2 separate regions of the Homo sapiens genome follow, and region 2 is linked to region 1. Evidence: promoter capture Hi-C in 16 types of primary human blood cells and fetal thymus (Javierre and others, 2016). All regions are on one chromosome and are shown on one strand. The core of a region is centred on a gene start or on the middle of the fragment in contact, and the rest is flanking DNA. Distances in the headings are between cores, read along the strand shown.

What was found. The method cuts DNA at HindIII sites, captures the fragments that hold promoters and counts their contacts. A CHiCAGO score of 5 or more calls a contact.
Region 2: a contact is called between the fragment with the promoter of MDH1B here and the fragment with the promoter of ITGAV in region 1, in 1 of 17 cell types (activated CD4 T cells). The highest score is 5.3, in activated CD4 T cells.

What each region holds. Positions count from the first base shown.
Region 1 is chr2:186,585,601-186,591,305 of GRCh38, forward strand. It overlaps ITGAV (integrin subunit alpha V), which reads left to right and starts at 4,456. Exons shown (of 30, transcript NM_002210.5): 1 at 4,456-4,923. The coding sequence starts at 4,739. It overlaps LOC124906105 (a long non-coding RNA gene), which reads right to left and starts at 4,296. Exons shown (of 2, transcript XR_007087465.1): 1 at 3,390-4,296. RefSeq lists a silencer at 4,519-4,748 and an enhancer at 4,879-4,938. The HindIII fragment of the contact is 2,158 bases long and covers 4,047-5,705 here.
Region 2 is chr2:206,762,549-206,768,253 of GRCh38, forward strand. It overlaps MDH1B (malate dehydrogenase 1B), which reads right to left and starts at 2,780. Exons shown (of 12, transcript NM_001039845.3): 1 at 2,702-2,780. The coding sequence starts at 2,723. It overlaps FASTKD2 (FAST kinase domains 2), which reads left to right and starts at 3,058. Exons shown (of 12, transcript NM_001136193.2): 1 at 3,058-3,199; 2 at 4,096-4,922. The coding sequence starts at 4,146. RefSeq lists enhancers at 2,559-2,698, 2,949-3,328. The HindIII fragment of the contact is 1,569 bases long and covers 2,268-3,836 here.

The sequences.
Region 1 (5,705 bases), core at 3,206-5,705:
CCCAGGAAGATGGAGCCCTTTGAGCAAAGATAGCACTCTGGAGAAAAGTTAAGTTATTTAATATGGCTAAAGCTCCTTTGTGAGGTGGGAAGTGTTAAGAAATGAGAGTTGAGAGCATGACAATGCATAAGATCACCCTGAGGAGAACTGCAGTGATTCAAGAACAGAGACTTAGGGAATCCTAGCATTGAAGGGGTAGTTTAGGAAACATGGCCCAGAAAGGTAACAAGTTTACTGCCTGCCTTCTCTTCTTTCCCATTCACCCAAAGAGCAGAAGTGCTGGCCAGAATCTTTTCTGATACAGATCAGATAGGAAAGGGCAGCACTGGGAGTGGAAGTGGTTATGGGGGTGAAGAGAGAACAAGTCAGTCTCCCTAATAAACAGCCAAGAGAGGAGTGACAGGAGTGAGTTAGACAAGCAAACAGCAACAAAAATTCCAGGGCAGGGTTTAGTGGGTTAAAGTCTCCAGAGAAATTGAGAGTAGAAGAAGCAGATTTCTGAAGTTCCCATGGGTTATTAACTGAATCTCCTTTGAGGTTCTTTGAGAGAGATAAAATTTGAAATTCCTCTTAAATTATGGACTAAGTTCCTTTGTTTGCAGAGACAGAGCTGCGTGAAGCCCTGGTTTGATTATGGTTATTGAAGGACCTGTTGGACAGACACTAGGGGAACTAAGAGAGTGAAATAATAGTCATAAAAATTTACGGCAGGAGAATTGCTTGAACCCAGGACGCGGAGGTTGCAGTGAGCTGACATGGCGCCACTGCACTCCAGCCTGGTGACAGAGTGACACTTTGTTTCAAAAAAAAAAATTTATTATTGCTACCATGCTAAACTATTAGTCTTAAAAGTATTAATGGCAACAAGAACTGTTCAATTCTAAGAGATAGACATAGTATTACTCCCCTTTCCCTTTCATAGATAAGAAAACTGAGGCACAGATTGGTTGGATTGATTTCCCCAGGGTCATACAACTAGTAGTTGGCAAAGCCAGGAATGGAACCCAGGTGCTTTATTTTACAGAAACCACTGGAATCAAGATTTTTACTAAAGTATAGGGTAGTAGAGGATAAAATTCAAAGTACAAATTCTTTTTACTATCTAATATTTTATTTTCTAAGAAAAGGATTATATTCAATGAATACTTAATGTATACACAGAAGTTCTCCTTTTAAGTTGGAAAACTGTTATAATGTAGTTCAAAGAGTAGTGTCATGGGGGTAGGGGAGGGGCACCACCATTCTTTCGTAGACTAAAACATTCTTTTCTCTGTCCCATGCACATAGTACCAGGTGCAATGTGGATTTTGAATCAGCACTAGCTGAATTGACATGTTCTACAATACAATTTGCAAGGCACTGTGTGAGTGGCTGCTCGAGCATGGTCACACAAAGAGATGCCTGCATTTATAACCCCAAGTTTCTAAAGCCACTGGGTTAGTCTGCTTCATAGTTTCCTAATTGAAATGTATGTTTGCTTTTTTTTGTTGTTAGACAGTCTCGCTCTGTCACCCAGGCTGGAGCACAGTGGCCCACAATACCACAATATCTCGGCTCACTGTAGCCTCTGCCTTCCGGGTTCAAGCAATTCTCCTGCCTCAGTCTCCTGAGTAGCTGAGATTACAGGCACACACCACCATGCCTGGCTACTGTTTTTTCTTTTTTGAGATGGAGTCTCATTCTGTCATCCAGGCTGAAGTGCAGTGGCACGATCTTGGCTCACTGAAACCTCTGCTTCCCAGGTTCAAGTGATTCTCCTGCCTCAGCCTCCCAAGTAGCTGGGATTACAGGTGCCTGCCACTGCACCCAGCTAATTTTTGTATTTTTAGTAGAGATAGGCTTTCACCATCTTGGCCAGGCTGGTCTTGAACTCCTGACATCGTGATCCACCCACTTTGGACTCCCAAAGTGCTGGGATTACAGGTGTGAGTGAGCCACTGCGCCCGGCCAATTTTTGTATTTTTAGTAGAGACGGGGTTTCACTGTGTTGGCCAGGCTGGTCTTGAACTCCTGACCTCAGGTGATCCACCCACCTCGGCCTCCCAAAATGCTGGGATTACAGGCATGAGCCACAGTGCCTGGACTATTTGCTTTTTTAAAAAAAACAAATTCCTTGATTTTCAAGACTGCTCATTCAAAATAAACTCATAAAGAATGGCTCAACAGTAAGTGCTTTCAGTAAGTTGTAGCCCTATTTGGGGGTGTGTTGTTCACCCAAGTTTTGGTGGGTGTACATGTGTTGTCATTTCGTGGGCTTCTTCTTTTCCCTGGTCCTCTCACATTTCTTCACTCCACCTTGGTCTGTCGGACCCCTGTCCTGCGATCAGAAGTTGAGGAGTGGGAGACTTACTGGATCTAGCCAGAGTTTAAACTCTTCTGTCTTCCTTACCTGGATGGATTTCCAGGTAGACTGGTTGTCATGTTTTTAAGATATAAAAGACCCTTTGGGTTTATGCATACATATCAATAGCCTCTTTGGTGTATTAGGAAAGAAGGTGAGAAATAAGCTGTATTTGCATTTATGTGTAAGGATTTGTGTAGGATTTCTTCTCTCAATCAGTAATTTCTTTCAGGCAGATGCTAGACCATGCCTTGTAAAACATGCCAAAGGTTTTGCTGCATATCTTTTAGTCAAATTTAAAAATGGAAATATTTAATGCATTTTTTTTTTGAGATGGAGTCTCACTCTGTGGCCCAGGCTGGAGTGCAGTGGCACCATCTCAGCTTACTGCAGCCTCCGCCTTCCGGGTTCAAGCAATTCTCCTGCCTCAGCCTCCTGAGTAGCTGGGACTGCAGGCGCATGCCGCCACGCCCGGCTAATTTTTTGTATTTTAGTAGAGACGGGATTTCACTGTGTTGCCCAGGCTGGTCTCGAACTCCCGAGCTCAGGCAATTTGCCGGCCTCAGCCTCCCAAAGTGCTAGGACTACAGGCATGAGCCACCTCGCCCGGCCTTTTTTTTTTTTAAACACAGGGTCTTGTTCTGTCACTCAGGCTGGAGTGCAGTGGCAGGCTCATGACTTATCATAACCTGGAACTCCTGAGCCTAAGCGATCTATCTACCTGCCTTAGCCTCCGGCATAGCTGGGACTACAGGCATGCACCACACTCCCAGCTAATTTTTAAATTTTTGTAGAGATGAGGTCTCCCTATGTTCCCCTGGAACTCCCGGTCTCAAGCAATCCTCCTGCCTCAGTCTCCCAAAGTGCTGAGATTGCCAGCATGAGCACCTGGACCTGGTCCAATAAATATTACAAATTCGAATTAGGCATTTCACTTTCATTTATATACATATCCTTTCACAGGATTATTTGATAGTTATTAATGTATATTATGATTGAGTTTTAATAGTTACTTTGGGAAAACAGAAATTACTGTTCCAGTACTTACTTGTAAGTTGTAAGTCCACACAATGCACTTAAACTTCACCTTGTTCAACAGATTCTGTAGCACATGAAACACTTGAAATATGGAAGAGTCACTTCTCTGGGCACTTTGCTCATTTCGTCTGCTATTCATTCACTGATTGGACATTTTATTGATCGACTACTATCTGCTTGGCAAGGTGCTAGAAATAAGAACACTAAGAAAAAGGTCAAGGTTCCTGTCCTCAAGGCCCTCTCTCTCAGTCCAGTGTTGTCAAGGCTTGATGAAACACACCAGTGGCAAACAAGCACGCGGGGCCTTATTTCACCGGTGTGCGGTCCTTCTTCCAGCTCTGAAATTATGTCTATCCAAACATCCTAAATCAACAAATCAGTGTTTCTAAATCATACAACCGCAGCTAACAAACTGGGAATAAGGCTTCGATTATTCTGACTTGATTTAAAACGATCACTGCCAATTCTTTGCCCTGCGAATCCTTTCTTTGACTACTAAGTTAAGCTTTACATACCTCACTTGCAAGAGGCTATGCTGGCTTTCTGGAAATCCGTAATTAAGTTCAGTGTTTGTGGAATGGAGTGTAATTAACGACCATTAATTAACAGGGTTTCGTTCGTGAGAGCCTGCCAGGCTAAGCAGCAGAAACACGAGAAACTGATAAAAAGCTTTCCTCATTTTTAAACAACAGTCGCACGGAAGTTCCCGGCGGGACAAGGGAACGTGGGTGCCCTTGCTACTCCCGTGGACGCGGGTAGATTGGGACGCTGGACCGTATCTCCCCGCCCCCGCCCCCACGCCTCCTCAGGTGCTCAGCCTGAGGCCTTCGTCCAGGAGCGCTGCCGCTGACCCAGGCTCAGGAGCTGGGGGCCCCTGCACAGACGCCCAGGTCTCGGGACAGGCGGCGACTGCACTCACGGAAGTACGCTGAGCTCTCCCCTGTAGAAGGGCGCCTCTCCTCCCCCACTTCCTCCTCCAGCTCCACAGCAGCCTCCCGGGCCGGCTCCTCCTCCTTCCAGGTCTCCTCCCAGTGCCGCCGCGGCTCTCAGGCCTGAGGTGCGGCGCTCACCCCGGCAGTCCCCAGCCTCAGACGCTGCGTGGAGCGGCGGAGCCGGAGGGAAGCAAAGGACCGTCTGCGCTGCTGTCCCCGCCCCGCGCGCTCTGCGCCCCTCGTCCCTGGCGGTCGCTCCGAAGCTCAGCCCTCTTGCCTGCCCCGGAGCTGTCCCGGGCTAGCCGAGAAGAGAGCGGCCGGCAAGTTTGGGCGCGCGCAGGCGGCGGGCCGCGGGCACTGGGCGCCTCGCTGGGGCGGGGGGAGGTGGCTACCGCTCCCGGCTTGGCGTCCCGCGCGCACTTCGGCGATGGCTTTTCCGCCGCGGCGACGGCTGCGCCTCGGTCCCCGCGGCCTCCCGCTTCTTCTCTCGGGACTCCTGCTACCTCTGTGCCGCGCCTTCAACCTAGACGTGGACAGTCCTGCCGAGTACTCTGGCCCCGAGGGAAGTTACTTCGGCTTCGCCGTGGATTTCTTCGTGCCCAGCGCGTCTTCGTAAGTGGCCGCACTTGGAACTGGAGCCGGCCCCCTCCCCCACCGCGCGCACCCACCCAGCGTTTCTCCATTGGGATTGATTTCCGAGAGATCCCGGCGTCTGTCTGTCTCACCCATCCTACCTCTCAGAGTGGTTTATATCCTGGGTGGAGGAAATATTTGGGGAAATGAACTCCCTTTGGTACCCATCACCCAGTTACACCCCGCTTCTCACCTCTTAAAATTGGTTAGGGGCAGCGGGAGAGCTTTGAAGCAGACCTGTGCTTAAAAATCGGGGAAAGTGGGAAATCAACAAAGGCTGGTCTTGCCGGACTCCCCGCCTCCTGTGCCAGTGTCGAGGATTTGGTCAATATCATCCCCGAACTTCTTTTTCTCCTCTACCAGTTAGGCTTCTTGGTAGCCTTTTTCTGCTTTACAGGCTTAACGCCCGTCCTTTTCAGTCTCCCTAAACAAGCCCTCCCCCACTCTTTCCGCCTCTGTCTGATTCTGTTTCTCCTTACTCCTTTTGCAGACATTCTGATGACTTAAAATGACCATACTGTCCTATTGAATTCATTGTGTCTTATCTCTGGGACTGTCAGACATTTGCACATTTGAGGTTGAACAGATGAATTGAATGTGTCATCTGTTCTTTTTATAGTGATTCACTATTTAGGTCATTGTTCAGAAGGAACAAGGGTGTTTGCTGAGTTTTCACTCGCTGCAGGTCATTTGAATACTGCAGTATTTAATAATTCAGTTATGTTTTCAAGTTGCCAACGTTCCGCGTTGCAAGGGCCGTC
Region 2 (5,705 bases), core at 1,530-4,029, about 20 Mb after region 1:
TCATTACATTATGTTTCTCCTGTCCTAAGAGACAAAAAACTCATCTCCCCCTCTAGCTATTGCCTTTCGTATGTCCTTTTTGATCAAAATATCTTGAAAGAGTTCCCTATATTTGCCATCCTCAGTTCTTCACTTCCATTTATTTCTCACCCACTGCAATGTAGCAGACCCCACAATTCTCTTGAAGGTCACTGAAGACTTCCATGCCACTAAATCCAGCAGATACTTTCCGATCCTTTTCTTGTTGACCCTTGGCAGCATTTGCCACCACTGCCCCCTTCCAGGCTTTTGAAACACTGCTATAGTGGGGGCATTCTCCCAGTTCTCCTATTCTATGGTCACTCCTTTCTATCCTTTGTAGGTTTCCATTCCTTTATCAACCCATTAAAAGGTATCATTCTGAGAAGCATCTTGTCTTTATAACTTACATATTCTTTTTGGCCAATCTGCTTCATTCCCTTGGCTTCAAGTAGCAATCTATATTTCCAGCTCAGATCTCCTTATCTAGATGCCTACACCCTCCTGTATTTTCCCATCTCCTTCAAAATGTCTCATAGACACTCAGAAGGTCTATGATGTATTTTGTCACCATTCCCCTACTAAATGTGCTTAGTCGCTTATATTTATTATGTCCATCTCCCTAATTATCTAAGAGTAGTAAGAGTATCCAGAGTATTAAACCTACTCATCCGCTTTTTTTTTTTTTTCAGTGACTCCTAATCTCTGCAATTATTCAAACCTCTGCTTGGGAACAATGTTTAACTCCTTTTTCTCCCTTATCTGCCCTCCTCCAGTCAATTAGACATCCAGTTCTATAGATTCTGCCTCCCTAATATCTCTCCAATCCATTCACTTCTCTCCATCTCCATTGTTTGCCACTCTAGGCCAGGTCACAATCAACTCCCTCCTGGACTATAGCACTAGTCTCCTAACTGGTTTCTTGGTATCCAGTCTTTTTGTCCCACACTATAGCCGTAACATTCAGATAAAATTCAGATTTGATTAGGCCCTCCTCCCCTTCTAAAAACCTTTCATGTACTCTGGATAAAGTCTAAACTACTGAATGTGGCTCAAAAGAATCTACATTATCTAACTCTAGCCTCACCTTATGAAATTCTCTTCCTTGTACTATTTGCTTCAGTCCTAATAAACTTATTTCAATTTTATACTTATTTTATATTCTCAATTGTCACCAAACTAGTTCTCCTTGCTCTAACCCCACTCCCAGTTACCCATGCCTAAATTGCTCCCCTCCTTTCTACCTCTTCTCTGTTAGGTAATTCATTATCATCTTTCAGGTATCTGCTTAAAATCTCTCCCTCTGGGAAACCCTTACCTGATTAAGTAAGGTCCCTGCTATCGTTCCTATAGAACCCTGCCCTGTCAGTGTCATACATGCAACATTCTCTGTGTGTTTTCCACTGACTTCCCACCATGTGGTTAGTCAGTGTTCAAAAATATTCTTCTGGGCCAGGTGTGGTGGTGCATGCCTGTAATCTTGGCACTTTGGGAGGTCAAGGTGGGCAAATCACTTGAGCGTAGGAGTTCAAGACCAGCGTGGGCAACATGACAAAACCCCATCTCTACAAAAATACAAAAATTAGCTGGGCATGCTGGTGTATGCCTGTAGTCCCAGCTACTTGGGAGGCTGAGGTGGGAGGATCGCTTGAGCCCAGGAGGTCAAAGCTGCTGTGAGCCACGATTGCACCACTGCAATCCAGCCTGGGTGACAAAGTGAGAGCCTGTCTCAAAAAAAAAAAAAAATCTCCTGTGGATGGTAGATGTCAATTGTGTTCAATGCATCAAAGAGATCAAATAAGTCAAAGACTAAACAGCTTCTATAAAAGTCAGTGGTGACTTTGGTGACAGCAGTTTCTGTCAGGAAGCAGAAGTAGAAGCCTTCTTCCAAGACTGATTGGAAGGCAGAACTGGAGATGGAAGAGCAGTCTACTCTTTTAAGAAACTTTACGAGGAGAGGAGGTAGGTACCATGGATTGTTGTAATAAAAGCCTTCTCAGTTGAGTCCTTGCTGTCAACCAGCACTTTCAATCATTCTCTCCGTTGCTGCCAAGACAGGCTTCCTAAAATGCAAACTCATTAAGACTACTCTCCTGCTTAAAATTTTTCTATAATTCCTCATTGCTTTCAGGATACAGTTCAAACACCTTTGCTTGACCTACATGAAATGCAAGGACCTGGCTCCTGCTCCTGTTGTAGCCCCAGGTCCTGTCACGCCCCACATATCCAGATCTTCTGTTAGGCCAGGAAGCTTCCTGCCTCTCTGCTTTTATTTGGAATAGCCTCCTCAGCTCACACCTTCACAACTCAGCTCCTGTAATACCTTCCCCAGCCAGTTCCTTGTGTCCACCTCTCCCTCATCCCCCAAACCCAGATTAGGAGTCTACGCTCCCAGAGGCCTGTGCAGGTCTCCTTCATCGCGTTAATCACACCGTATCAAAAGTACATGTTCTGTGCCCCATGAGACTGAAAGCTCCTCTAAGGCAGGGATATGTTTCCCTCCATTGCATCCCCAGTGTCCCACAATGCTTGGCGCACCGTCACGGTCCAGTAAAAAACTTTGAATAAATCTATAGCAAAGCATGGAGCGGTCCGTATAGAGGCTGCCAAGCCGAGCGGCCATGGGAGGTGAGCTGTTGTCGGCGTTTTGAGCAATCTGCGGGCGGACGCGGGGATCACTCACCCGCGATGACGAATTTGGCCATGGTCGAGAGAGACTCAGAGGCAGGGACCGCGGCTTCGCGGTTTCCTGGCAACCACGCAGCCAAGGGCAAGGCGCAGGCGCACTACAAAGTCTGGCGCCCAGCAGAGGTTAGGTGTTTAAAGTTAGGACCTGAATGGGTTACGTTGCGATACACGATCAAACATCGCCCTTATAAGCTCTGTGGTATCCCCGAGCCCCACTCCTGTATGCAGGGAAATTAGTCATTCTCCTTGGTAAACTTTCTTCAAGTAAGTCCTTCAGCTACAGCCGCGAACATATGCTTTTTGACCTTTGAGGGAATCCGTAAGATCTCGTGAGAAGCGCAGCTTCTCGGGGAAGCTGTCATGGCTGCTCCTGTACGTAGTCACGGTCTTGTGCTCTAAGGTGAGTGGAGGACGAGCTTGGGCTTAGCGGCAGCCCGTATCACATCCTAGACTTTTTACTTCGAGGAGAAGAGTCTCACGAGTTGTCCTGGAAGTAAGTTTAAAGGAGGTGGGTTAATGCTGGGCGGCCCAGCTGCGGAAGGACAGGCTCTTGAAGTTGGTTCTGGGGTCTGGTGAGGCTGGCTGGTTGTATAAGATCTTCCTCTTAAGCGCAGGCCACGTGCAGACATCGCTTTCGTTTTCTGCTTCTTCCACTGAGCCGTTCTACCTGCCCAGGTCCCTATTCTTGATGGTCTGGGTTCGGCCGTTGCTAAATCGTCATGTTGAAAATGATCTATCAGCCGGGCGCGGTGACTCACGCCTTGGGAGGCCGAGGCGGGTGGATTACCTGAGGTCAGGAGTTCAGGACCAGCCTGGCCAACATGGTGAAACTCCGTCTTTACAAAAAATACAAAAATTAGCCGGGCGTGGTGGCATACGCCTGTAATCCCAGCTACTTGGGAGGCTGAGACAGGAGAATTGCTTGAACCTGGGAGGTGGAGGTTGCAGTGAGCCAAGATCGCGCCACTGCACTCTAGCCTGGGGGACATAGCAAGACTTTGTCTCAAAAAAAAAAAAAAAAAAAAAAAAAACAGAGAAGAGAAAAGAAAATGATCTATCAATGCTAATCCCCTAATTTTCACCGAGGACATTTCCATAACAATGCCAACAAAAGTCTCTCCTACAGAGAAAGCTTTATGGAACGCTTTTGCACCAGAAAAATCTCATTAATACAATGACTACTTCCAAAGTGACCTGGCTTCTTTGAAACTGGACACATTGTGGTAGATTGGAGGGAGCCCACATTGGTAAAAAAAACTTTTACTGTTTTATGTAAATGTTTAATGGCTCCATAGGTTCCCCATTTTCTCTTCTGTTAAATGCATTTCATTTCTTTAAGTAAAAGTTTTGTTTTAATTTTTATTCTTTTCATTACTTCTTCCCCTACAGGAAAACGACAGCACGTGTTCTTTTTCACTAGTAGAAGTGACGTTGGTTTCATGTTGACAACTTTGAAGCCATTTGGAAGTGTTTCAGTGGAGAGCAAAATGAATAACAAAGCGGGCTCCTTTTTCTGGAACCTTAGACAATTCAGTACATTAGTTTCAACAAGCAGAACTATGAGGCTATGTTGTTTGGGACTTTGCAAACCAAAAATAGTTCATTCAAACTGGAACATTTTAAATAACTTTCATAACAGAATGCAATCAACTGATATCATTAGATATCTCTTTCAGGATGCATTCATTTTTAAATCAGATGTTGGCTTTCAAACAAAGGGCATAAGCACTCTAACAGCCCTTAGAATTGAAAGACTACTTTATGCTAAAAGACTGTTTTTTGACTCAAAGCAGTCTCTTGTCCCTGTTGATAAATCTGATGATGAATTGAAGAAAGTAAACCTTAATCATGAAGTCTCCAATGAAGATGTTCTTACCAAGGAAACAAAACCAAACCGTATCAGCAGTAGAAAACTGTCTGAGGAATGTAATTCCCTGAGTGATGTGTTAGATGCATTTTCAAAAGCGCCCACATTTCCTAGTAGCAACTATTTCACAGCAATGTGGACAATTGCCAAAAGACTGTCTGATGACCAGAAGCGCTTTGAAAAACGACTGATGTTTAGCCACCCTGCATTTAATCAGCTCTGTGAACATATGATGAGAGAAGCCAAGATCATGCAGTATAAGTACCTACTGTTCAGTCTTCACGCCATAGTGAAGCTTGGAATCCCTCAGAACACTATTTTGGTGCAGACTTTGCTGAGGGTGACCCAGGTAAAATAAAAAGGAGATTTAAACATGCATTTACTTGATTTAGAATATTTTGAAAGAATGAAGGGATATAGATATGTAGCCTTCTTAAAAGAGACTATCAAATGGAATGGTAGTTTCCTTTATATTTATTTCTGCATATATATTATATGATTTAGAGGCCTTAAGTTAGCTATTTTCTTCCTTTTGCTATGGAAATTTATGAAAGCCTTCCACATTTACCATCCCCAGGGTTGAGTAGTGGTGAAGAAGCTAAAGTGAGGAGAGATGCAAGATATACAAAGAAAGCCTGGGTAGTTGAAGAAGGAGAGAAGGGAAGGGGAAGGAAGAGAATTTAGTCCATGGTAGAATTGGAATTCAGGCCCAGTAGATGATACCTAAACTGATGAGCAGAATGATAGTGAAGGGGATGGTGTTTCAAGTAGAGAGGATTGCATGCCCTACTGTTCCCAGAGGAAAAGTTTGGCAAATTTGAAGAGCTGAAAGTAGTTTGGTGTAGCTGAAGCACAGAATGATGGAGTTGTATGTTTGAGTGGGTGGGAACAAGTTTTGTACATGGCGATCAAAGGAGAGGAGTGAGGGGCAAGAGGCTTAGGGGCAGAACAAGAGGCCAGAAAAATAGGAACCAAATCATAAAGAGCCTCTTACGGCTAGCTAAGGAGTATGCATTTATCCTGTAGGCAATGGGAATCCGTTGAAGAATTTTAAGCAATGGGTTGACGTGCTCAAATTTGTATTTTAGATCACTGAATGAGTGGAAGATGTATTGGAAGAAGGTTAAAATTG